Regions from separate parts of the Homo sapiens genome. Here all the other regions are linked to region 1. The links are contacts of gene promoters, found by promoter capture Hi-C in blood cells and fetal thymus (Javierre and others, 2016). All regions are on one chromosome and are shown on one strand. Each heading gives the region's core, a stretch centred on a gene start or on the middle of the fragment in contact. The rest is flanking DNA. Distances are from core to core; before and after follow the strand shown. Region 1 holds the start of SLC2A3 (solute carrier family 2 member 3). Region 2 holds the start of CLEC4E (C-type lectin domain family 4 member E). Region 3 holds the start of PEX5 (peroxisomal biogenesis factor 5). Region 4 holds the start of RBP5 (retinol binding protein 5). Region 5 holds the start of LPCAT3 (lysophosphatidylcholine acyltransferase 3). Region 6 holds the start of MIR200CHG (MIR200C and MIR141 host gene). Region 7 holds the start of CLEC6A (C-type lectin domain containing 6A).

Region 1 (3,307 bases), core at 116-2,615:
CAGTCCCAGCTAAGCATCGGTACCCCGGAGGGCCCTGCCAGTGCAATGCTCTGTTAAATCTTTTTCCGTTTAGTAAAAATCTCTTCTGTCTCCTCTCATCATTCACTATCTTTGAGAGCCTTTTCTTCTTTAGTCTCATAATTTTCCATCCCTTTCTTATTTTCCTACATTTTCTTTCTTTCTGCTTTGTAGAGATGGGATCTCACTATATTGCCCAAGGCTAGTCTCAAACTCCAGGCCTCATGTGATCCTCCTGCCTTGGTTTCCCAAATGCTGGGGTTATAGGTGTGACCCACCACACCTGGCCCCTTATTTTTAGTTAAATTTATCTTGGTAAAAAATGCCTTTCTTGCTGCGCGCAGTGGCTCATGCCTGTAATCTCAGCACCTTGGGAGGCCGAGGCCGGCGGATCGCCTGAGGTCGGGAGTCGAGACCAGCCTGACCAACATAGAGAAACCCCGTCTCTACTAAAAATACAAAATTAGCCGGGCCCGGTGGTTCATGCCTGTAATCTCAGCTACTCAGGAGGCTGAGGCAGGAGAATCGCTTGAACCCGGGAGGCGGAGGCTGTGGTGAGCTGCGGTCGCTCCATTGCACTCCAGCCTGGGCAACAAGAGTAAAACTCAATCAGAAAAAAAAGAAAAGCCTTTCTCCCTGCAAATAATGCATATACAACACTCAATATTTTAGTATGTCCTGCACTCACGATTTTAACCCTAATAGGAAGGACAACTGGAATTCTTTCTCCTTAGCATCCACGAACCCCATATGTTATAGGACAAACAGATGGCCAGACCCTGGCCTGTGCCTCCAAACACAGACCTTTTCAAGGTCTAATGCTTCCAGAGAAGTCTTCACACTGGCTCTGAGACCCACACTTGTAATCCATACAACCAAGCAGCCCGATCCTCTAAACACTCAACCATCTCGTCCTCAGTGGCATATGGTTACCTAAAATAAACCTGAGAAGCAAACACAACTTCTCCGGGTGACTTTCCTATGATAAGGTGAACAGAACTGTATGACATTCAAAGAGAACTGATGAAGCGGCAGCAGTGCAGGCTAGAGACGAAATGAAAAGGCCTTAAGATAGCTTGGTGACTTAGGAGAAAATAGAACAAGGAGATTACCATTAATATTTGCCTTTCTGAGTGTATCCCAAACAAGCAAAAATAACCAGTAATTATATCATTCTTACCTTCTGTGTCCCCATCGCTGTAATCTAATTCAAGTCTTCAAGAAAGATCTAGGGGTGATTCCAGAAACAGCTTTTTCAGCCAACAAAACCTTCAAAATGTCCTTCTCAGCAGCAAGTTTTCTCCACGTCCTCAGGAAGGATCCAAAGTCTTACCATTACAGCATCTCTGGGTCTCGCTGGGATCATGACTATTTATAATCTCCGCAAAGGGTGGAGCCTGAAAGGGCGACAAGCCCCCAGCCCCACCCCACCCCACCCCACCCCCCTGAAGCAATCTTGTGATCTCTCGGAATTCTGTGTTATCAGAACTACCCCCGCCCCCGCCCCACAGACAATAACGCCCTCCCTCCCCCCTCTCTTAAAACCACATCCTTCCACTCTCTCCACCCTGGGTTTTTTTTTTTTTTTTTTTTTCAAAAGCTCATCCTTACTCCTTCCCTCTTCTAATAGCAGCTAGAGCCTCTTAGTTTCACAGACAAAATACTACCAGAAAAGCCTGGAGGGAGGGCAAATACACTATTTTATGCTCTCGCATCTGCTTGGGATTAAAACAATCTACAGAGAGATTAGAATAAATCTATCCATACAAAACGAAGTCAAGTGGGTGCTACTATCAGAGATTTAAGGTTGTTAGAAAGAGTGTTAGTAAGAATTCTTGATCCTATGAATTTATAGGCTGGGTCTACAATCTTTTTTTTTTCTTTTTTTTTTGAGACGGAGTACACAATCTTAAAGGGGAGGGAAAGACAGCCTGAGAGAAGAAAATCAGGGAAATAATTTTGCCAGTGTTCCTTTCTTCGCATAATCTCACCTGGAGGGAAGAAAATCTGAATTTCTAGGAGCCAGACCAACTATCAGGGCAGTAGGAATAAGAGGTTCAACTGTTTATGGAATACAATCCATATCCTTTTTTTTTTTTTTTTTTTTTTTTTGATATGGAGTCTCTCTCTGTCGCCCAGGCTGGAGTGCAGTGGTGCGATCTCGGCTCACTGCAACCTCCGCCTCCCGGGTTCAAGCAATTCTCCTGCCTCAGCCTCCCGAGTAGCTGGGACTATAGGCGCCCGCCACCACGCCCCGCTAATTTTTGTATTTTTAGTAAAGACGGGGTTTCACCATATTGGCCAGGCTGGTCTCAAACTCCTGACCTTGTGATCTGCCCGCCTTGGCCTCCCAAAGTGCTGGGATTACAAGTGTGAGCCACCGCGCCGAGCCCTATATTTAATAAGGCATTTGCCATATCACCCATTCTGAATTCTGCATCACTTTCTGCTAGTCTCAAGCTTATAGCATCTAGAAATGCAATAAATACCGAATTCAATTAAGCAGGTATTTGCCGAATACACGCTATGTATCAGGTACTCTCCAAGAAGCTGGTGATTCTTCAGTGAATAATAGAAAAAAAGGCCGGGCGCGGTGGCTCACGCCTGTAATCCCAGCACTTTGGGAGGCCGAGGTGGGCGGATCACGAGGTCAGGAGATCAAGACCATCCTGGCTAACACGGTGAAACCATTCTCTACTAAAAATACAAAAAAAAAAAAAAAAAAAAAAAAAATTAGCCGGGCATGGTGGCGGGCGCCTGCAGTCCCAGCTACTCGGGAGGCTGAGACAGGAGAATGGCGTGAACGCGGCAGGCGGAGCTTGCAGTGAGCCAAGACAGCGCCACTGCACTCCAGCCTGGGCGACAGAGCAAGAATCCGTCTCAAAAAAAAAAAAAAAAAAGAATAATAGGACAAAAGAGTTCTGACCCACAAGTCATTTATAGTGTTTCCCTTCTTCCCTTTTTATAAAGTATAAAAAGGGACTAGGGCAAGTAATTCTCACATAACTGGAAAAGATTATTAATATCCTATTAGTTATGGACTGTGAGTTTCTTGAAAGAAAAGTGTTACATAAGTATCTGATTACTAAGCTATACAAGAAAACTGAACAAGCTAAGCAGGAGAAGAAAATAGGAATGAGAACTGAGGGAGGGATAATCGGGGAGAGAGAAGAGTGGTTCCAGGTTGAGAGTAAACAAAGCAAAACAACTTGGTTTGTGTTTAAACAGCTGGGTAAGTGAGAGATAGTATCTAGGCTTTTTTGGAGGAGGAATATCAACTATCAAATTC
Region 2 (3,260 bases), core at 171-2,670, 600 kb after region 1:
TCTCTCTACCCTTCCTTCCAAAAGTAATTAGTCATATCTCTGGTGCCGACCAGTAGTTCAAGCTCTAAGGCAGACTCTCCTAGAGAAGGTTACACTAATGATAGAGGCTGAAAGAGGAGGATTCAGGACTGCCAAGGAAGTGAAAAATGTCTATCATGAAAAGTAAGTCACAGGTGATTAAAATTCAGAAACAGTTCCCTGCTTGTTGAGGTTTCTGGTTTGAGAAATAACCTAGAGATTAATAGGGAAAAAAAAAAGGGTGAAATAGAAAGACCCTTTGAGGGCAAAGAGAGTCTACAGGCAGCATGGAAGAGTTTTCTCCTAATATGCACCAGGAAGAATTAAATTGAATTTGACCTTCAGAACCCACCAACACATCTGGTGATGAAACAGGCACTGAGAAATAGGATGGGGATCCCAGCAACAGTCCATAAGAACATTTGGGAAGAGAAGCATCCTCTCTCTGTAGAAAGAAAGACACAAACATGATCAATCTTCCCTAAGCAAGGTACAAAAGAGATAGAAGAGATTCTTATTCATCCTTACTTATTTCCTTCTACTTCCATTGTTTGTACTGAGTAATTCCCAAATTTCAGCATGCTTCAGAATCACTTGGAGGGTTTATGGAAACACAGATTGCTGACCCTTACCCCCAGAGTTAGCAACTCAGTAGAGTTTGTATGGAACCAACAAGTTCCCAGGGGCTACTGCTGCTGCTGGTCTGAGGACCACACGTTTAGCACCCCTGGAGTAAGACTCTGACTCATGAACTCAGATATACAATTTTTCCTTTCTAAGTCTCTCAGTTAAATTTTTTTCAGTATTTTCTAAGGCCCCCCTTCTTTCTTTTTCTTTCTTTTCCCTTTTCTCGTCTTTGCTTTTCTTGTCCTTCTCCTGATCTTTTTTTTTTTTCTGTGTCTCACTTTTCAAGCGCTTTGTAAATTAGGTAAAATGTTAACAGTCATCTAATAGTTCCTCTCTTCCTCCCATTAAACATTTTACAGACAAAGAGAGTTCCAGAGAAGTGAAGTGACTTGCCAAAAGGGACACAATGTATTGCAGAAAGGGTGGAAACTGATAGCTCTCCCTTAGCTAGAGGCCAGCAGGCTTTCTGGTATAAGAAATAGTCTTTAAATCTCTCTCTCTCTCTTCCTCTGTCCCCCCACTTTTTTTTTTAACTTCAGTGAATACTTTTCTATTGTCCTGTCTTTCACCATATTTATCACTTGTTCCAAAAAGAGATCTATGGAAGGAAAGGAAGAGTTGCAGATTTTACCTGTGCATTGTGTTTCAGATGATTTAGATGAATTCATTTTTTCTCTCTCTTTGGTTTTTTGTTTCTCTCTCTCTCTTTTTCTCTCCCTCCCTCTCTTTCTTTCTCCTCAGGAGTGTTTTGTTGGTAAGATTCAGGGAGAATGAATCTTGAAAGATAAACACTTTGTCTTTTAGGAAGTTCAGCTCCGATAGATGTAGAATATTAACTTGTTCTGTGGCTACGCATTAAGTCAGGATTTCCTTTCTTGCATAAGGAGGACAAGGAAGTTTATTGGACAGCATGTCAGTTCTCTTCACTCCATGTAACAACAAAATGAGGAAATTATGAAATGGTAAGCATCAACACAAATAGGCTAGCCATGGGGAAACAGGAGAGTTTTTTTTTTAAATGTTGTTTCGTTTCGTTGGACCAAATGTCTCTAGTTTCTTCAAGGCATAACTCATCCCCCAGTTTTTCCTTGACAATATGGAGCTCACCTCTGCACTCTGAATTTCACTTTGGATCTGTACCATCCACACATTTGGTAACTGAAAAGAAGACTTAGACAACATAGCACAAAGCTGGGCATATAGTGTATGTATTTAGGACATGGCAACCTGAATTTTTTCATCTTTTTTTTTTTTTTTTTTTTTGAGACAGAGTCTCGCTCTGTCGTCCAGGCTGGAGTGCAGTGGCATGATCTCCGCTCACTGCAAGCTCCGCCTCCCGGGTTCAAGCCATTCTCCTGCCTCAGCCTCCCGAGTAGCTGGGACTACAGGCGCTCGCCACCACGCCTGGCTAATTTTTTGTATTTTTAGCAGAGACGGGGTTTCACTGTGGTCGTCAGGATGGTTTCAATTTCCTGACCTCGTGATCCGCCCGCCTCAGCCTCCCAAAGTCCTGAGATTACAGGCGTGAGCCACCGCGCCCGTCCTCTTTTTCATCTTTTATGGTTTTTCTTTCTTCTTCATTTGCAGCTCTTGAATATTCTAATGTTGTGGATTTATGTCCCTCTTATCTTATGCTGACTACTAGGCTGCTACTACTAGGCTGACTACTAGAGTCCCCCTCAGCAGGACAGCCTCATGTGATTAGACCACTTTGAAACTCAGCTTAGTTTTTCACAACATAACGCAGCTTCTGAAGTCTCAGAGACCCAGCAGGCAGTTTAATTCTCCTGTTCTCAATTATTTGGGGATTTTAGTTCTATGTTACAGCCTACAGTAGGAGAAATGTATTTGAAGGTCAGAAAAAGCAATTTCAATTAGATATTAGAATTTAATGGTTCTCTGGGCCGGGAGCAGTGGCTCATGCCTGTAATTCCAACACTTTGGGAGGCCAAGGTGGGTGGATCATTTGAGGTCAGGAGTTTGAGACCAGCCTGGCCAACATGGTGAAACCCCACCTCTACTAAAAATACAAAAATTAGCCAAGTGTGGTGGCACGCATCTGTAATTCCAGATACTTGAGAGGCTGAGACAGGAGAATAGCTTGATCCTGGGAGGCAGAGGTTGCAGTGAGCCAAAATTGCACCACTGCACTCCAGCCTGGGCGATAGAGTGAGACTCTGTCTCAAAAAAAAAAAAAAAAAAGAATTAATGCTTCTCTGGAAGAATAGTTAGATATGTGCCTTCTCCTTACTTAAAGATACTTAAGAATAAGATCACACTGGTCTCAGTTTATTTAAGTTCACGAGTCAGGAGGCATAAGTATGATGTACATGACTTGGTAAATCCCCACATCCAGTGACTCACGAATTTTCCATGTGTGAGAAAATATTCTTGTTCTCAAAGGGACTTTTTATTATTTCAAGGTACTGGTCAATTTTCTCTGCATTCTCTGTTTTATAGTAATACAATTTTAAAAATATCTTTAAATTATATATGTGTATATTATAGAATATACCCATATTTAATATGTGTATTCTCAGCAAATAGCTTTTGATCAGTAAAAAAAGAGAAACTATCTAGTGGATGAGCTATATGAATTATAAAATGATGAACAT
Region 3 (3,548 bases), core at 575-3,074, 750 kb before region 1:
CTATGGCCTAGGAGATCAAAGATCTCCATGGTTTATCAGTAAGTCTTCTCTAAGACTGGGAAGTAGGTGCCTAGAGTTATGCCTGGATTAAATTTTGACTTCCTAGCCATCTGATTTTGCACAAGTCTTATCTGTAAAGTGGGTCTACTAATATCTATTTAATAGGGGTATTAAGAAGATTAAAAACATTGAGATACATAAAGTGTTTTACACAACACCTGGATTTTAGTAAACATCAGTTATTATTATTAGCATTCTTCCAAGATCTGCACACAAAGTGAGTTACGGCTAATCAGTTGATAAACTCCTAGCAGAGCAGAAGGTTATGTGTGTTGTGATGTTTAAGTGGTACTGGGAAACTCTGGTTGCCTTGAGGTTCTGAAATTCTACTGTATCAGATGGGTTCCTTTAAACATTGCTCTCTCTAGGGGGTCCTCTTTTTAAAAGTATGCACCTTCTGGAGGGCATCTCTTCATCCTTGTGTGGTTTAGTTTATCAGGTATTTTCCTCACGATGGCAGCCTGAGAACAGGGGACGCCCAAGGGCTGGGATTTGTGTGCTCCGGAAGAAAACGGGGTGTAGAAGTGGGGCCTCTGAAAGAGGGCGAAAAGGCAAGGAAAAGGAGAAATGTTGCACAGTCTTATGGTCTGTCCCCTGCCATTCTGTTCCCCTGAGGTGTCAGAGCAGCTTCTCTGTCTTCCCAGGGATGAGTTTACACAGACATTCCCTGTGGCCCCCTGAGGCCTCCACCTCTGAAATCTGCAGAACAGCCAGGAAACAAGCCCGGCCCATGGCGCCACCTGCTGCCTGCCTGCCTCCGCTCATGCACCCTGGGCTGGGATGGTACTTCTGTTCGTCTGGCATTATTGCCCTTGGTCATTTACCGGCAGCCCTGGGCCCCTCCTTGCTCTTCTCCATGACACTAGGACTCCCTTGGTCTTGAAGCTGGGTGAGATTATCAGGGTTTGTTTCTCAATGACTTTGAGGTTTGACAGCAGAGCACACTCTTTGGCAGATGAGGGGGCTTGAGGCTTAGTCTTATTCCGTGATTAAAAGCATTTCTTGTATGTTTGTCCTTTCCCAGCCTGGAGTGATGGGAATAAGGCCACTATGTTGACTTAGCGGAAGGAAGGGCTGACTCACTGTTCACCTTCCCTGTACGTTACCAGCTCGAGGTCTCAGGATGCGTTGGACCCTATTTTGGTCTCCGGAATTTGTCATCATGCAGTGCTATTTTCCCCATTATGCAGAGGTGGAGAGGGATTAAGGCGGGGGCGGGCCCCTGTCTCCATGGAGACAGTGACGCTACCCCGCTAGGGGTTATTTGGAAGCGGGGCAGGCCTAGGAGGCTGAAGAAGGCTTCGGACTGGACTCCCCAGCCCCTGGTGTTAGGGCTTTTCTCTTTCTTGGGCTTGGGAACATTAGCCAGCCCCATTTTAGAGGGGAAAACTGAGGCTCAGAAAGGGCACTGAATCCCCTTAGGTCACAATGCGCCCAAGGGAAGAGGCAGGATCGACTGAGCCTAGGATCTCGCGTCTTCGGCTTTCCCCCAGAGCCTGGGAAGCCCTTCTTAGCTCCACTCTTCTTTGAGCTTTCCGTCAAACAAATCCTAGGGCCCGTGGCCTTTTCGAGCGCTCCTAAAGGCGACTCTCCAAGACCCGCTCTCTAAGGTGCTCTTCCCCTTTAAGACTCACGGCTCTTCCCGTCAGGCTGCGTCGCAGTCTTAAGGCCCCGCCTTTTCAGACAGCTTCCGCTGGGCCTGGGCCGCTGCGGGGCGGTCACGGCCCCTTTAAGCCTGAGCCCCGCCCCCTGGCTCCCCGCCCCCTCTTCTCCCCTCCCCCAAGCCAGCACCTGGTGCCCCGGCGGGTCGTGCGGCGCGGCGCTCCGCGGTGAGCGCCTGACCCCGAGGGGGCCCGGGGCCGCGTCCCTGGGCCCTCCCCACCCTTGCGGTGGCCTCGCGGGTCCCAGGGGCGGGGCTGGAGCGGCAGCAGGGCCGGGGAGATGGGCGGTGGGGAGCGCGGGAGGGACCGGGCCGAGCCGGGGGAAGGGCTCCGGTGACTTAAGGGGAGGGAATGCTCCTCTGCCGTGCTCACCGCGTGCTGGGGCTGCGCGGGGCTAGGTATGGTCGGGCTGTTTTCCCACTGTCCCTTCTTCGGGCAGTGTCGCCGTCCAGCCTGGTTGTTGAAGCGTCCCCGTGGTCCCCCGGGGTCCAGGCCCCTTTGTGGAGGCAGCTGCTGGCCCCCAGCCCATGGGACCGTAGTCGCGGAGGCCTCTGCAGAGGCGCAGGCTGGAAGCGGTGGCCTTTGAGGGGGGCGGCAGGAGAGAGTACCGACCTCCCTCGAACTCCTGGCAGAGGTGGGGGTCGCAGCAAAAGCACTGGGGTGGAGGGCGGCCAGTGTGGGGCAGACGCCTGTGTGCCTTCCTCAGATACGGGCAGAGTTGTGGATGTGAGAAGGGTCTGGCTTGGGTACCTCAGTTCCAAACCTCCTGTGTCCATCAGAGAGCTGGCGGTCACCATGGCAATGCGGGAGCTGGTGGAGGCCGAATGCGGGGGTGCCAACCCGCTCATGAAGCTCGCCGGGCACTTCACCCAGGACAAGGCCCTTCGGCAGGAGGGATTGAGGCCTGGCCCCTGGCCCCCCGGAGCCCCGGCCTCTGAGGCAGTGAGTGTTCTTGAGGTGGAAAGCCCAGGTGCAGCCTCTGAGGCAGTGAGTGTTCTTGAGGTGGAAAGCCCAGGTGCAGCCTCTGAGGCAGTGAGTGTTCTTGAGGTGGAAAGCCCAGGTGGTGGTGGTCTGAGGTGGAGGGGCTGTTTGCACATCTTGGTATAACTGCTTTCTCTATTGTGTTGCAAATCATAGTAGTTACCACTTACTGAGCGTTTATAAACACTAGAAAACCCTGTGCACCTTTAAATAAATGCAACCATTTTATAGATGAAGAAGCCGAGGCTCAGATGCCTATGGGCTTCATCAACCCCTGATTTTAGAGGAACTGCGTCATTGTACATCTCTGTCTTTCTCTCTTAGGCCTCCAAGCCTTTGGGAGTAGCTTCTGAAGATGAGGTAAATAGACCAGTCTCTTTTCTGTCCCATTTTTCTCTTGCCCACTGTGTTTTTACCTTTAAACTTAGTTCACCCGTATTTCAATTTTTGGGCTTTCCTGACCGAATGAGAATGCCTGCTTGTTTTTAAATGTATTTTTTCGTCCTTCTAAATCTATGGAAAGACAGTTTCTCTTTATGTGTCTCCAGTTTCTGTGTTTTCCTTTCCTTGTATCTAACATTGGGATCCCCCTCCAGTGGGTCCTGCCTCTTGCTGGGGCCTCCCAAGCCTATGGGTTCATTTCATCATTTCCCTTCTGGCAGTTGGTGGCTGAATTCCTGCAGGACCAGAATGCACCCCTTGTGTCCCGTGCCCCTCAGACCTTCAAGATGGATGACCTCCTGGCTGAGATGCAGCAGATTGAGCAGTCAAACTTCCGCCAGGCTCCCCAGAGAGGTGAGTCCAGAGTCTAGTGGGAGGGGAGATCGTTTTCCATGTAGCCAGGGC
Region 4 (3,247 bases), core at 275-2,774, 810 kb before region 1:
AGTGATCTGCCTGCCTCAGCCTCCCAAAGTCTTGGGATTATGGGTGTGAGCCACCACGCCCAGCCTTTTCCCATATGCTTTAAATCATCTCTAGATTACTTATAATACCTAATGCAATGTACATGCTCTGTAAATAGTTGCTATACTGTATTGTTTTTTATTTGTATCATTTTGTATTGTTATTTTTTATTTTTATTTTTCCCAAATATTTTTCCATTTGCAGTTTGCTGAAGCTGTGGATGCAGAACCCATGAATATGGAGGGCCAACTGTATTTTGTAGGCAGTTGAAAACATTGCCCTGGAGCTCAGGAGATGGCTCTGGCTGGAGAATTCATGCCAAGGGCAGCCTATAGATGGAAGCAGAAGGCATGGGTGTAGATGATTTAGCCTATGGATAGTGGGCAGACAAAAGGGAGAAGACATTAAGAACAAAACTCTGCGGAGAAAACTCCAGTTTAAAGGATTAATAGGAGGACTAGGATCTGCAAAGGAGGCTAAGAAGGAATATGTAAGAAGTAGAAAGAAATGCAGGAGAGTGAAGTTATTGATGCTAAAGTAAAAGGGACTCTGGGTGACCAACAGTGTCACAGGCTGGAGGGTGGGCAAATGTTTGCTCTTCGGTCTGGGTTGGCCTGTTCTTTGCCCTTTGGGCTGGTGATAAGAGGGGGCAGGGAAGAAGTGGGAGAGAGACAGGGAGCACCAGGACCTGTTAGTTCTGGAGACTGGTATCCTGGGGACTGCATTCCCTGCTGTGGTGACCATTCCCCTCCTCCCCGCTGCTCTGGCTGGGGAAGGTCACTTTGTTTTGCCCCATGTTGTTAGGAGTCTCCTGTGATGCCTCCTTCCGGCCACCGCCCAGCCAGGGGAAATGTACCTGGCATTTTCGTCCGTCCACGCTCCTGAGGTCCTCCTCAAACTCCACTCCCACATCAAACTGCACAGTGTAGTTTCGGAAGGTGCTGAGCGTCCTCACCGTCATGTGGTTGCCCTGGTGTTCGATCTCCTTGTCCGGCTTCAGCAGCAGCGCGATCTTCCGCACAGCCAAGCTGATGTCTGTGGGGGCTGCCTGTTAGTAGGGGTGCTGCTAGCCAGCCAGGAGCTCCTCTGCCTGCAGCAGCCCCTCAGGGCTGTGAGTTTCCCTTCTTTGGGTCTGGGACTGTGGATTCACCCCCTCCTACCAATGCCTGGTTAGAAATGGATCCCAGGTCTGGTGCCAGCCGCCTGAGCCTTTCCACAGTGTCCAACCCCGGGCATTCCCTCTTCTCCATGGGACCAAGAAGCAGGAAGGAAGAGGGGAGAAAGGGAGTGACAGGGGTCTGGGAGGGCGAGGCCATTACTTAGGGCTTGCAGGTAGTCCTCCATGTTCTTCTGCGAGACAAAGCGGTAGTAGCCAGTGAGGTTGGGAGGCATTGTGTGGATGAAGGTTTCAGGAGAATGCAGGAGACAGGGTGAGGAAGGAGGGGGTGTTGTCTGGCAGGTGAGGCTGAGAGATTCCAGCCAGCTCCACACACAGAGACAGGATGTGTAATGGCCGGGTTACCAGGGCTTTTTATAAGGCTGGGGCCCTGTTGCAATAAGAGTCCCTACCAGACTTCTTCCCTCCCCGCATGGTGAGTTTGGGGGTGGTGTCTCCAGCCTGAAGGAGGGGCAGGGATTTGGCAAAGTTGCGCCTGACCTTGGCTTTTCCTGAGGAAGGAACCTGGAGCAGGATCCTTCCTGAGGAAGGAACCTGGAGCAGGATCTGGGGCTGTCAGTCATCCAAAACTCAGCCATCCAAAGGTCAGTGTTGGCCTCCACCTCATTTCTGGCAGGCTTGGGAACCGTCCCAGGGCCTGAGGGGCAGTCTTTCCTGGGAGACACCTGAGGCTGGTCTGGCTGTGTGAGGTGGAGATGAGTTCCAACAATATCCTGAGATCCTGGGACTGAGTGATGTTGGAAGATGTGAGGGGAGGGGGTGAGGATGGCCAGCTGCCACCATGAAGAGCACCCTGTAGGCCTGGCTCTCAGAGCTCCCTCAGGTAGTGTGCTCAACTGGGACCCCAAAGTGGCATTCCAGACTCTTGGTCCTAAAGAGCCATTAGGAGGGAGGTGGAGCCCGAGGGGTGCTGAGTTCAAAGTCCGGAACAGACAGCCTGAGAGGAGTTTGTTGGCTATTCTGGAGAATTTTATTCTTTTTGGCTTGGGACCCAGGGGGTTTTCTCTCCCTCTGAGTCATCGATGAGACCGTAACCCCCAGTCCCCAGCCCTAGGACAGCCCATGCTTTCCAGATGTATTTCTGTGAAGGTGGGGTGGAGGCGCCTAAATAATATTGTGCCCCGCCCCCAGCTGCCCAATTCTCTCTCGAACCTGCCATCGTCCCGGGCTTCAGAATCCACTGGGCTTGGTTCATCATGGTTTAAGGTGAAATTCGGGGCGAAGGAGGCAGGACAGGTAGGCAGGAGGAGGCGGCCGGTCCCGACAGGTGCGTGCGCGAGGGGTGCACGACGTCCTGCCCCTCCTTGGGTCCCAGAGCCTCGATACCGCCCTGCGGACCGCCCTGTGGCTTCCTCGCAGCCCTGGGCTACAAATGCCAGGATTTCTCAGGCTCAGACTGAGGGTTTTACTTCACCCTTCCCAGAGGGCACGCAGCACGGATCTGTGGATGGAAGGGGCTGTGGAAACAGGTTATGGCAGAGTTGGGGGGCGGGGTGACGCGGTGCCACCCCTCCTGGCCGCCCTCAGGTCCCGCTGACGTCTCTCTTCCCCACCCCCTGGCTTCTGGCTTCTTTCTCCCCACGTCCCTCTTCTTTCCCACCCCCTCCGTGGCTCTCCAGCTTCCTCCCCAGCCCCCGCAGTTCCTCGGCTCCCCCAAAATTGCAGCCAGGGGAAGGAGCCTTGAAACTCTCCAGCCCCGACGCCCCAGTCTCATTGGCTCCCTCCCCCGCTGCAGCACCTGGTCCCCCCCCCTCCCAGTCACCTGATTGGCCGGCGGCCCCATCAATCGTTGCCCGGCTGTGCTGACGTCATCCTGCAGTAGCGGGGTTGGGGTGGGAGTGAGAGAGTGAGGACGCTGGGCTGGGGGAAACGGGAAGCCGCTGCAAGTCCACCGCCTCAGCTACCCAGATTGGGATCTGCCCAGGCCCGCTTTATGGACTAGTGTGGGCGGCAGGCTCCTTTCCGTCCCTGCCCTGCTGTACCCCGCTCCTTGGAGACCCCCTGTATCCCTCCCGCAAGGTGGAATCCGCAGGCTGGAGGCTCCCAGGGGA
Region 5 (3,423 bases), core at 661-3,160, 920 kb before region 1:
TGCGCCTGGCCTAATTTTTTGTAGAGACAAATAAAATGTTGCCCAGGCTGGCCTCAAGCGTTCCTCCCACCTTGGCCTCCCAAAGTGTTACGATTATAAGCATAAGCCGCTGCGTCCTGTCAAATGTAAACACTAATTGCTAATTACAATGTCAAAAATAACTGGGTCAGAAACAAGGATGAAAGAGTAGGAAGTTCAAAGCTGGTGTAGTGCAAATAAGCCTAGACTAGGGTGCTGATAAATTTGGATGATGTCTGGGTGACACTGAGCAAACTGCACAACCCCAGTTCCATTCCATCTTTAAAATCTTACGATTCCACAGAGGAAGAAAAAGGTGATCTTTATTTGGAAGAAAGGAAGATCTTGGTTTGATATGTAATAGGAAAGTAACAATGCTATTAGGCAAGGTTGTTTAAATATGAATTAATGCCTATCCCATTATCTAGATTGGGTTAACACCCTCTGGTGATATTATATATCAGTGTTTCTACTGAATACTGGATAAACGCCAAACTTCTCTCTGGCATTTAAGGCTTTCCACACCTGCCCAACTTTATCTCAAACTTCTCATGGTTCAGACCTCTAACCCTCTGCTCTAGCCCCAGTCCTGTTTCCTTATCACCACTTACAGCTTTTGCTTAATCCTTCCCACTCACCCGCTCCTAAAGTTCTATAACCTTCATAAAACGTTCCAACTGCTTAAATTTTATGTATATATATGTACAGGTACTTCCCAATCTTGGCCCTTCTACAGGACTTTATGGCAATCCTATGTGGTAGGCACTGTTGTCCTCATTTCATAGATAAGGAAATTAGGCCCAGAGGGTTTTGCGGCCTGCGTAGGGTCCTTCAGTTTGTGAGCAGCAACAAGGCTGGATCTGATTTGTTTGCCTTCAAAACCCATACTTTTTTCCATTGTACTATGCTACCTCCATGTATTAAACCATGGAGTGAGGATGCGGTAAAAAAGCCTATAAACCAGTTGTAATACAGCTTGTTGTGGCATAAATTCAGATACACCACATCCTTTGAACCACACGTGTAATAAACGCTTGGAATAGTATGGATCGATTTTAAGGAGGTTGTTAGTCCTGTTTCCCAAGTCCAGCATTAAAATGATATTCCAGGGTAAATGACAGGTAGGTGGCTTGGAAAATAAAAAAAGCAACATGGTATAAAAAGAAAATAGTAGGACTGGGACAGAAAAGAGACGAAAGTATAATATAAGCTGGCAATAAGCAAAACAGGCGCTCAGAATATGAAATATGGAATATGGGGCTGAAAAGGCCGAAAGGGCTAAAGTTAGGGGCCCTATGCCTACCGATGAGATGCGCGCGTGTGCGGGGTGGTTATTAATGACAGAGCAGGACACATGGCCAGACAGTGGAACTCAACAGAGCGACAAATAAAGACAGGTCGTGGGAGCAAGGGTAGAGCCTGGCACAAGAGGGCGGGGGCCCGACTGAGAGGCCAGAGGGCATGGCAGGGGTTGAAGAGAAAGATGAAGAGGTTCAGAGGGCACAGCGCCCCAGACTCGAGACAGGACTTCTGTCTTCCCTCAGTAGCTGTTGGTGTGCTTCAGGATTCACACCCGCACCCGGCACAGCCCTCCCGGGTGGCTCCGGGAAGAGAGGGAGGTCCTGTCCCCATTCCTCCCCTACTCCCCGGGGACTCCGCGAGGGGCGGAGGGAGGCAGGAGGGTCCTTACCCAGGAAGATGGAGATGATCAGCCGCAGCGCCTGTTCTGACGCGCCCAGGGACGTCGCCAACTTGTTAAGGCTCAGCTCCTGGAAACCCGACTGCAGAACCCCCGCCAGCGCCACCACAGTCCCCTCGTCCCCCTCCGCTGAGGACGCCATCTTAACTCCGGGAGCCCCACAGGGACCCCCCAGCTCCGCGCGCCCCGAATGCGGGCAAAACGCTATCGCTTCACCCCCAATTCCGGCTCGGGGCCCGCCCACGGCGTGCGCATTGGCTGGAGGCCCGCCCCGCGGCGCCAGCTCACCCCGTTATTGGCCGACCTGCGCAGAGGGCGGGGCCTAGCGCGGCAAGGTAGGAAGAGGGCGGGTCTGAAGGTTTGTAAGGCAAAGGTGACTCCTGCCGAGAATGCACACGGGGAGGCTCAGGGCTGGGCGGGGCTTGGCGTCGGGACCCAGAGCTGCCATTGGAAAGGTCTGAGCCCGTGGCCCGGCGACAGTTCAACTCCGTTCGAAATGCTCCCAGGAGGAGCCCTCCGGGGCGACCGTCCGGCCGGCCGGTTCGCTGCCTTCCCATTGGCTGAGGCGGGAGCAGGCGAGAGTCTGGACGCGGGGGGGCCGCCCGCGCGCGAGGTTACTCCCGGTCGCCGGCGCTGGGGTTACTGGGGCATGTAACGGGGAGGCGGGAACGCCCGCGCCGCCTTTCGCGCGCCCCCTAACGGCGCCTCCCGGCCCGTTCTTAAATTCTTAGGTTGTTAGACTCGTCGCCTTCACTCCCGGAGGTTCAGCGGAAAGCCCAGTGCCCCAGGAACAGACATTGTCTGCTCCTTTTATTTCATGGATCCCTTTTCCATGCAGTTTCCTGTAGTAAAACATGACCTTCCCCCTAGAGGCGATGAAATTAAGATATGCCTATTTAACACTTATTATTTTAATTAAAAATTCAAATAATTTTGCACTGAGTAATACATGTTTATGATAAAAGTTATAACAGTATAGAAATGTAAAACAGAAGAGTCCTGTTTCCCCTCCCTGCTTTTCATTCTCACTTCCTACAGGTAATCCTGTTAAGATTACGCCAAAAAAAAAAAAAAAAAAATCTGTCGAGCACTTACCATATGCCAGGGACTGTGCTGGGCTTGGGAATAGAATCAGGAGCCCAGAGCCACGGAGTGGGAGGATGCACAAATAATAGCATCAATTAACGTGTTATTGCAAGAGAAGGTAAGTGCTCTGAAGGAAAGGGTCAAGGTTCTGTGAGAGTATGTAACAAAGGAATGCTAAGAGTTTCTTGCAATAACTCTTAGTTACAATAATTTGTGGCGCATTCTTGTAAAATTACAGCTTATACTTCTGTAGCACTTGCACTTTATAAAGCACTTTCATCCGTATTATTTCACTTGCTTTGGCTGCGCAATAGAATATTTATTATGATGATGTCCTCTTACAGACACAGAGGCTTGGAGAAATTAAGAAACTGGGTAAGTTCCTTTACAAGTAAGCGGCAGACAGAATTTAAACCTAGGTCTGTCAAATTCCCTACCCCTACTCCCATTTTGGGCAAGATTTTAAAAAACAAAATATTTCATTCACACGGAAAAGTAGAGGATAATATAACTTCTCCAGGTTAAGAAACAAACATCACCTATACATTTGAAAAGCCGGTATATCCCTTCCTGAGGGCATTTCCCTCCTTCCTTTCTCAGAGGTCACCACTTTGCTGACT
Region 6 (3,440 bases), core at 713-3,212, 970 kb before region 1:
CTCCTCTTGTAAATAAAGCCCTGGGATCACTGTGTGTCGCCTCTGAGCCCTTTGCTTGCCCAGTGAGTGGGCGGCCAGAGGGCAGGGCAGGATGGGTAACTGTGTGTGCCTCCGTGCGTGCCTCGCGTGAAAGCTCCGCCTTCCGTCAGACGGACGTGGGTCGGGACTCCGCCTCGCACGTGGGAGGGTGACCGTGGGTGAAGCTCCCCAGTCTCCTTCTTTAAAATGGAGGGCGATCATAACAGGGTGGTTGTGAAAAGCACCGAGATGACGGCTGACGATAAGACGGGCACAGTGACTCATCACACGCTTGCCATGTGCCCAGGCACTAAAAGACTACACACGTTAGTTCAGTCTAGGCACTTCTGTCATTCTCATTTTACCGTGGCGGAAACTGAGGGACAGAAAAACTAAGTAACTTGGTCACTTGCCCAAGGTCACAGGGCTATGGAACAGTGAGGCTGGGATTCGAACCCAGGCTGTCTGACCCCAGAGCCCACACTCCTTACCCTGGAGTTGCAGCTGGGGCCACCCTCAGGGGGGCCCTGATCACACTCCCCTGATGCTGAGTTCCAGATCTGAACTAAGAAGAGTAGTTAACAGCCGGAAGCGCAGACCTGAGGCCAGCCCGGCTGCGTCCCCTCTGGCGGGAACAGGGACAGGCTCCTCAGAGCACCCGGGCACGCCCAGCTCCTCCCCTCATCCAGGCCGCTGCTGCCCTTATCCTCTTGGGCAGAGTTTGAAGAGCTGGCTGACGTGAAGAGTGCTTTGTTTTTTGTCCCCTCTTCCTTCCCCCATGTCAGGAGTGGGGTTTCTTCTTTATTTGAAACACTGGTGTCCTGGGGAGTAAAGCCGGTGGGAGTCATCCCTCAGGAAGTGCTGGCGCCCACTCCTGGAAAGGCTGAGACAGCACAGGTCCCAAAGCCCAGAGGCTGGGCGTGCATTACTCAGCAAATCCTTACAGAGCCCCCGGCGTCACAGGCATTCACAGTCCCCCGACCTCCTGGAACTTAGGAGGCTGGTCAGGGAGACAGATTCACAAACCGATCACAAGCATCAAATAATTGCAGGCGGGTATTAAGAAGGAAGCAAACAAAGCCTGGGAGAGAGAACAGCGAGGGATTGAGCAACCCAATAGCTCCCTGGGGCTGTGGCCCTCCAGGGCACGGGTGGGGCAATCACCTGTCGGGCCCAGGTCCCCTCTCCCAGCAACGCCCTTTCTATACAAGCCGCAGCTGCACAAAGGCAAGTCCCACCTCCTCTAACCGCCCTTGGGCTACCTGCCCTTGGGGTGGGACTTGGACTCCACTGAGGGCTGTGCTGTGAGGTGGGTCCGGGAGCAGCTCGGTCCGGAGAGTGGAGCGCGATCGTTCCCTCTGCAGGCCTCAATCGAGGGGCAAGGCTGATGCTCCGGGCCAGCTGGGGTCTCTGGGTAGCGGTGGGTAACTTCACACTAGCGACACCTTGCTGGGACCCGCCTGCCCTTCACAGGCCTGGCGGGGCCTTCTCCCTCCCCTTTCCCTCAGGGGATCCCAGCACAGGCTGGGCACTGCGGGGCGGCACAGCCCAACTCCTGCCCAGCTGACCCCTCGCTGACCTCAGGGATCTCTCTGGCCTGCAGCTCCGCTGTGGGCAGGGTCTGAGGCCACAGAGGAATGGGCTAGTCCTGGGGGCAGCATCTGCTGTGGGGAGGGGACCCAAGGACAGCCCCCGCTTTTTGTACCTCTGGAGACAGGGGTGAGACTAGGCAGGTTGGAGAAAAGAGGCCCCTGGGAGAGGGTGGGAGGCCTAGAGGAGTGGCCAAGCCTTAGAGGAGGTGCCCGTGGCTGGCGCTGGGAGGGAAGGGGTTAAGGCAGTGGGGGGGCAGCCTATGGCAGGAGGACACACCTGTGCGCAGGGTGGCAGGCGGGGCCCAGGTAAGGAGCCTGCGCTGGCTGCCCGGCAGGCGGAGAAGGAAGGAGGAAGAGCGGAGGCCAGGGCGGGCTCTAGGCCGTGGAATCTGGGGCCTTAAAGCCCCTTCGTCTCCCCAGCACCCACTCTCTGGGGGCAGGTGGGCCCGGTGACAGGTAAAGGCCACCAGGGGAGAGGTCCTGGGCTGAGCTTGGGACTGCAGAGGGGGGATGAGGGTGGGTAAATCGGTGTGTGTCGCGGGTCGGGAAAGGCTGCCGGGGGTAGGGGAAGGTGGCTCAGAGGCGGCGGGCCGACGGTCGAGGGGCTTCGGAGGGCCTGCTTGGACTGCAACCTGGGCCTCGTGATCAGCGACCCAGGGTGTGGCTGGTGGCGGGCAGCAGGGCTCACCAGGAAGTGTCCCCAGGGACTCGGGTGGTGGGGGGATGGGAGCCAGGGATCTGCAGCTTTTCCGCAGGGATCCTGGGCCTGAAGCTGCCTGACCCAAGGTGGGCGGGCTGGGCGGGGGCCCTCGTCTTACCCAGCAGTGTTTGGGTGCGGTTGGGAGTCTCTAATACTGCCGGGTAATGATGGAGGCCCCTGTCCCTGTGTCAGCAACATCCATCGCCTCAGGTCCCCAGCCCTTAGCTGGCTGCAGCCCCCTCCCCACTTCCCACGCACCCCGGAAGCCCCTCGTCTTGAGCTGAGAGCGTTGCACAAGGGGTGGTTCTTGTTGGCTGGCTGCCACTAAGGGACACAATGGGCCCCAGCCCCTCCTCCCACCCAGTGCGATTTGTCACCTGGTGGATCCAGAACCCACAGTCGACCTTGAGCTTGGGGTTGGCTCGCCCCCTCTCAAGAGACCTCACCTGGCCTGTGGCCAGGGTCCCCTGTAGCAACTGGTGAGCGCGCACCGTAGTTCTCTGTCGGCCGGCCCTGGGTCCATCTTCCAGTACAGTGTTGGATGGTCTAATTGTGAAGCTCCTAACACTGTCTGGTAAAGATGGCTCCCGGGTGGGTTCTCTCGGCAGTAACCTTCAGGGAGCCCTGAAGACCATGGAGGACTACTGACCAACAACCTCTGACCTTCACCCCTCTGGATGGGGGACGAATCACTAGGCAAAGGGGAACAATGGGAAGGAGACAAAATGGCTGCCTTTACAGCTGCAGCAAGATGTGGAAACACTGGTTCCCTAGGCACCTCCATTGTCTTCCCGCCTTGGGAGCATGAAATAAATAAAGTGTGAAGGGGAACATGAGGAAGACTGATCCAAGTCACTTGACCTGTCTTTTGTCTAGTTGTTTATCTCATCTTAGCCTCCCAGCAACTCAGGATTGGGGCTGCGACGTCTGCTTTGTCTTTCATGATACTCAACCCCAAGCAGAGAAAAATATCTTAAAAATCGAAGCAGATTAACCCAGTCCCTCTGTTCAGATCCACCTGCTGCCCTATCTGCATTTGGCAGTTCCTGGACATACTTTGCACCTATGTTTTGTCTGAGTTCCACATCTTCCTTGTCTCCCCGCAGGGATGGGAAATGGGCAGTAGTGGG
Region 7 (3,766 bases), core at 198-2,697, 520 kb after region 1:
AAGCAATGTATTAATAGCACTTGCACTGACCTGGATGAGATTGGAGACTATTATCCTAAGTGAAGTAACTCAGGAATGGAAAACCAAACATCATATGTTCTCAATGATATGGGGAGCTAAGCTACGATGACACAAAATGTATAAGAATGGTACAATGGACTTTGGGGACTTGGGGGGAAGAGTGGGAGGGGGATGAGGGATAAAATATTACAAATATGGTGCAGGGTATGCTGCTTGGGTGATGGGTGCACAAAAATCTCACAAATCACCACTAAAAACCTTACTCATGTAACCAAATACCACCTGTACCTCAATAACTTATGGAAAAATAAAAATTAAAAAAAGAATGAATCAGGAGAGGGAGTGAATTAAAAAGTTACTCATCAGTAAATTATCATTGGTTTACAGAAACCACATTGATTAGTAATTAGCTGTATACTGTTAAATTTTAGGGTTCAGTTAGTCTAGAACCTACATAGCAAATGGCTTCAAGAGGTAAATTTCGTGCAAGGTGGCAGTGAGGCATGACTCCTGTCATATCTCTCTCATGAGTCCACTCTGGACTTGATAGTTTCAAGGCACTCACATTCCTCAAATAACAGTTTTTTTTTTTTTTCGTTCTCAGCACTCCATAGATTTATGGCTGTTTGTTAACATACTATTTAAGCAAGGCCTGTAAGCCACTGCCATGAAAGAGATAAATACATTTGAACTGAGTTCTCTCCTGAGTGATGGGTATAACACACATTGATAAACTGCTGCTTTTTCTCTTGTTTCTCTGCCTTTTGTTTTCAGGACAGTGTCTCTACTAAGAATCTATGAGGACAAGAAAACATCATATATTTTCTGTGCTACAATATAAAATTCATGAAGCCTGTTTCTGATTTTATATCACTTCAGGCTCCCTTTTGCCTAATCAGGGAGATTACAAAATATCACTGACATCTGCCCAATATTAGTCTGGATGCAGTAAGAATGTTTCATCACCTTTGCAGACTGATTTCAGAATGTTTCATTTTGCAGTCACATTCCTTAACAATGTTCATGGGTTTTGTTATTTACTATGTTACCCTTCATATCTAAACCATATCCATCCAATCAAACTTTTGCTTACTACCTAGGACACTGTTCAACACATGGATTAAGGCTTGCATAAAATAAGCAGCCAATGTAAAGGTTAGTTAGGGAGCACTTAATTTAACCAAGTTCTCTAAATAGATGTCTTTTAGGAGATAAAAAATTTTCTATTTTGCATGCCAGAATGAATAGGAATCAGACAGAGAAATTTTATGTTAGAAACTGAAGAAATGATCTAAGTATTCTTGTCAAAGTTCTCATGAATGGTTTTCAATGTTTCTCAATTCCTCTTTTGTTTTTTTTAACCCCACGTATCGAAATCACTGGAAACTTTAGTTGTAATTGTGACTTCTTCTTTTGAGGTACACTTAATGTTGGAAGTCTCTTAGTCCTATAAGAGTGTGTAGCAGTTTGTCCCTGAGCTCTAGCTTCTTTAAATGAAGCTGAGTCTCTGGGCAACATCTTTAGGGAGAGAGGTACAAAAGGTTCCTGGACCTTCTCAACACAGGGAGCCTGCATAATGATGCAAGAGCAGCAACCTCAAAGTACAGGTGAGTATTTCCTCAGTTTCAGAGGAAAGTGGAAGTGTATGGTGAAATGAGATCACCTGGAGAGAAGAAGTAGCCAAAGAACAGATTGAAGAGCTAGTGATTGGACCAATATAGTAGACTCAAAGGAATTTGAAAGAAAGAGTAATTCTTCAGAGCCAGAGCCATAAGCACTTGAAAGAATAAGAAAGCAAATATTTTTTGGGAGGTTTGTACCAGATTTTATTGATAGTTTAGGGAGACAGAAAAGATTTACATGATAGAAGGTAAACAGGGAAATAACTGATTATTGGATGTCTGCTCTTCAAAGTCTTTTGACTAATTTTGAAATCCAGGAAGCAGTACTCTTTCCAATTACCCTAAGTTTTTTTGTACTTGCTTTTCTAATTTTTTTGTAAGAGAAAAGCTTCCCATTTTTAATGCATGAAAATTTGACTTTAGCTTCAACCCTTTGCATGTCCATCAATAATGTTTTAAAAAAATTTTTATTAAAATTTTTTATGGATACAAAATAGTTGTGCATGTTTATGGGCTCCATGTCATATTTTGACACAAGAATATGATGCGTAATGGTAAAGTCTGGAAAATTACATTATCCATCACCTCAAATATTTATCATGTCTTTGTGTTTGGAACATTCCAAATCTACTCTTCTAGCTATTTTGACATATGCAATAAATTATTGTTGGGTTAGGCTCAGTGGCTCACACCTGTAATCTCAGCACTTTGGGAGGCTGAGGTGGGTGGATCACTTGAGGTCAGGAGTTAGAGACCAGCCTGGCCAACATGGTGAAATCCCGTCTCTAATAAAAAGACAAAACTTAGCTGGGCATGGTGGCATGCACCTGTAATCCTAGCCACTCAGGAGGCTGAGGCAGGAGAATCACTTGAACCCAGGAGGTGGAGGTTGCAGGGTGCCAAGATTGCCTCATTGTGCTTCAGCCTGGGTGACAGAGTGAGACTCCATGTCAAAAAAAAAAAAAAGTTAACTACAGTTATCCTGCTGTGCTAAGGGACACTAGATTTTATTTCTTCTAGCTAATTGTATTTTTGTAGGTACGAAACAACCCTTCTCTATCTTCTCTTCCCAGTTAACCTTCCTGGCCTCTGGTAACCACCATTCTATTCACTACCTCCATGAGATCAATTTTTTTAACTCCCACATATGAGTCAGAATATGCAATGTTTGTCTTTCTGTGCCTGGCTCATTTCACTTAACACGATGTCCTCTGGTTCCATCTGTGCTGTTGCAAATGGCAGGATTTTATTCTTTTTTATGGTGGAATAATATGCCATTGTATATATTATACTACATTTTCTTTATCCATTCATCTGTTGATGGACACTTAGGTTGCTTTCATATCTTGGCTACTGTGAATAGTGCTACAATAAACATGGGAGTGCAGATATCTCTTGGATATACTGAAGAAACCAAATATCAATACAGAGATATGAGAAATGGGAGACAAAAGTGATGTTTTGAGAAACGAAATCAATGGAAACATGTAATAGTTTAGAAGAAAGAATAAAGACATGGAAATTCCAGTTGGTTGAGTGTATGTTTTACCTGTATTCTTTTGGACCACAGAGCTACTACCTGGTTATTTATTCTGAGGGAGTTTGTAAGCTGTCTTCTTGCTTTAAGTTTTTAACTGCTCTGAGGTTCTTCATCTAGTTTGTTCATTGTTGTAAGCTTCCTGGGGATTTTGGCTCCCTGGCCCCCTGGTAACTGCATTTGTTGTCTTCCTGATTGGACAGAGAAAAGAGGCTGGTTGTCCCTGAGACTCTGGTCTGTGGCTGGGATTTCCATTGCACTCCTCAGTGCTTGCTTCATTGTGAGCTGTGTAGGTAAGTTCTTCACTGAGGTGCATTTTCCTTGCTTCCTTTCCCTTGAATATTCCATACAGGTTTCCTAGGATATATTCTCCTTTGCCCCATTAATACGTCAGCTCTTACTTGGAATGCCACACTTTCCTTGATTTCTCCTTTTCCCTTTGTTTTTCTCCCTCTATCTTTTGAAAACTGAATTCTTGTAGATGTACTTTACCTGGTTTTATTAGCATTTTCTGAATCATGGCCTCACATATCCATGTTGTCCATTGTAGCCATCATCTAAGACACCATCTTTCAGGACTGGATTC

The links. The method cuts DNA at HindIII sites, captures the fragments that hold promoters and counts their contacts. A CHiCAGO score of 5 or more calls a contact.
Region 2: the fragment with the promoter of CLEC4E here is called in contact with the fragment with the promoter of SLC2A3 in region 1 in 2 of 17 cell types (neutrophils and monocytes); the score reaches 17.1 in neutrophils.
Region 3: the fragment with the promoter of PEX5 here is called in contact with the fragment with the promoter of SLC2A3 in region 1 in 2 of 17 cell types (M2 macrophages and erythroblasts); the score reaches 7.7 in M2 macrophages.
Region 4: the fragment with the promoter of RBP5 here is called in contact with the fragment with the promoter of SLC2A3 in region 1 in 9 of 17 cell types (naive CD8 T cells, total CD4 T cells, activated CD4 T cells and 6 more); the score reaches 10.7 in naive CD8 T cells.
Region 5: a contact is called between the fragment with the promoter of LPCAT3 here and the fragment with the promoter of SLC2A3 in region 1, in 5 of 17 cell types (total CD4 T cells, total B cells, naive CD8 T cells and 2 more). The highest score is 8.6, in total CD4 T cells.
Region 6: a contact is called between the fragment with the promoter of MIR200CHG here and the fragment with the promoter of SLC2A3 in region 1, in 5 of 17 cell types (naive CD4 T cells, naive CD8 T cells, neutrophils and 2 more). The highest score is 10.7, in naive CD4 T cells.
Region 7: a contact is called between the fragment with the promoter of CLEC6A here and the fragment with the promoter of SLC2A3 in region 1, in 7 of 17 cell types (monocytes, erythroblasts, M0 macrophages and 4 more). The highest score is 13.4, in monocytes.

Annotation. Positions count from the first base shown.
Region 1 is chr12:7,934,822-7,938,128 of GRCh38, forward strand. SLC2A3 (solute carrier family 2 member 3) reads right to left here and starts at 1,366. Exons shown (of 10, transcript NM_006931.3): 1 at 1,199-1,366. The coding sequence starts at 1,213. RefSeq lists an enhancer at 1-427 and a silencer at 1,495-1,544. The HindIII fragment of the contact is 4,746 bases long and covers 1-2,476 here.
Region 2 is chr12:8,539,485-8,542,744 of GRCh38, forward strand. It overlaps CLEC4E (C-type lectin domain family 4 member E), which reads right to left and starts at 1,421. Exons shown (of 6, transcript NM_014358.4): 1 at 1,277-1,421; 2 at 371-463. The coding sequence starts at 1,313. The HindIII fragment of the contact is 5,761 bases long and covers 1-3,260 here.
Region 3 is chr12:7,187,862-7,191,409 of GRCh38, forward strand. It overlaps PEX5 (peroxisomal biogenesis factor 5), which reads left to right and starts at 1,825. Exons shown (of 16, transcript NM_001351132.2): 1 at 1,825-1,889; 2 at 2,501-2,663; 3 at 3,027-3,062; 4 at 3,365-3,497. The coding sequence starts at 2,517. RefSeq lists enhancers at 310-811, 812-1,311, 1,622-1,681, 1,682-2,398, 2,392-2,541 and 2 more and silencers at 722-771, 1,792-2,201. The HindIII fragment of the contact is 37,708 bases long and covers 1-3,548 here.
Region 4 is chr12:7,127,365-7,130,611 of GRCh38, forward strand. It overlaps RBP5 (retinol binding protein 5), which reads right to left and starts at 1,525. Exons shown (of 4, transcript NM_031491.4): 1 at 1,339-1,525; 2 at 876-1,054. The coding sequence starts at 1,411. CLSTN3 (calsyntenin 3) reads left to right here and starts at 3,007. Exons shown (of 18, transcript NM_014718.4): 1 at 3,007-3,247. RefSeq lists a silencer at 2,764-2,863. The HindIII fragment of the contact is 14,463 bases long and covers 1-3,247 here.
Region 5 is chr12:7,016,566-7,019,988 of GRCh38, forward strand. LPCAT3 (lysophosphatidylcholine acyltransferase 3) reads right to left here and starts at 1,911. Exons shown (of 13, transcript NM_005768.6): 1 at 1,709-1,911. The coding sequence starts at 1,859. RefSeq lists a silencer at 2,262-2,521. The HindIII fragment of the contact is 11,114 bases long and covers 1-3,423 here.
Region 6 is chr12:6,961,283-6,964,722 of GRCh38, forward strand. It overlaps MIR200CHG (MIR200C and MIR141 host gene), which reads left to right and starts at 1,963. Exons shown (of 2, transcript NR_135032.1): 1 at 1,963-2,066; 2 at 2,919-3,165. MIR200C (microRNA 200c) reads left to right here and starts at 2,417; the gene lies at 2,417-2,484. It overlaps MIR141 (microRNA 141), which reads left to right and starts at 2,815; the gene lies at 2,815-2,909. It overlaps LOC105369634 (a long non-coding RNA gene), which reads right to left and starts at 1,817. Exons shown (of 2, transcript XR_931601.2): 1 at 1,257-1,817; 2 at 350-839. It also overlaps PTPN6. RefSeq lists enhancers at 1-275, 276-1,075, 298-816, 625-834, 1,076-1,877. The HindIII fragment of the contact is 14,599 bases long and covers 1-3,440 here.
Region 7 is chr12:8,454,515-8,458,280 of GRCh38, forward strand. CLEC6A (C-type lectin domain containing 6A) reads left to right here and starts at 1,448. Exons shown (of 6, transcript NM_001007033.2): 1 at 1,448-1,628; 2 at 3,384-3,473. The coding sequence starts at 1,598. The HindIII fragment of the contact is 4,980 bases long and covers 1-2,029 here.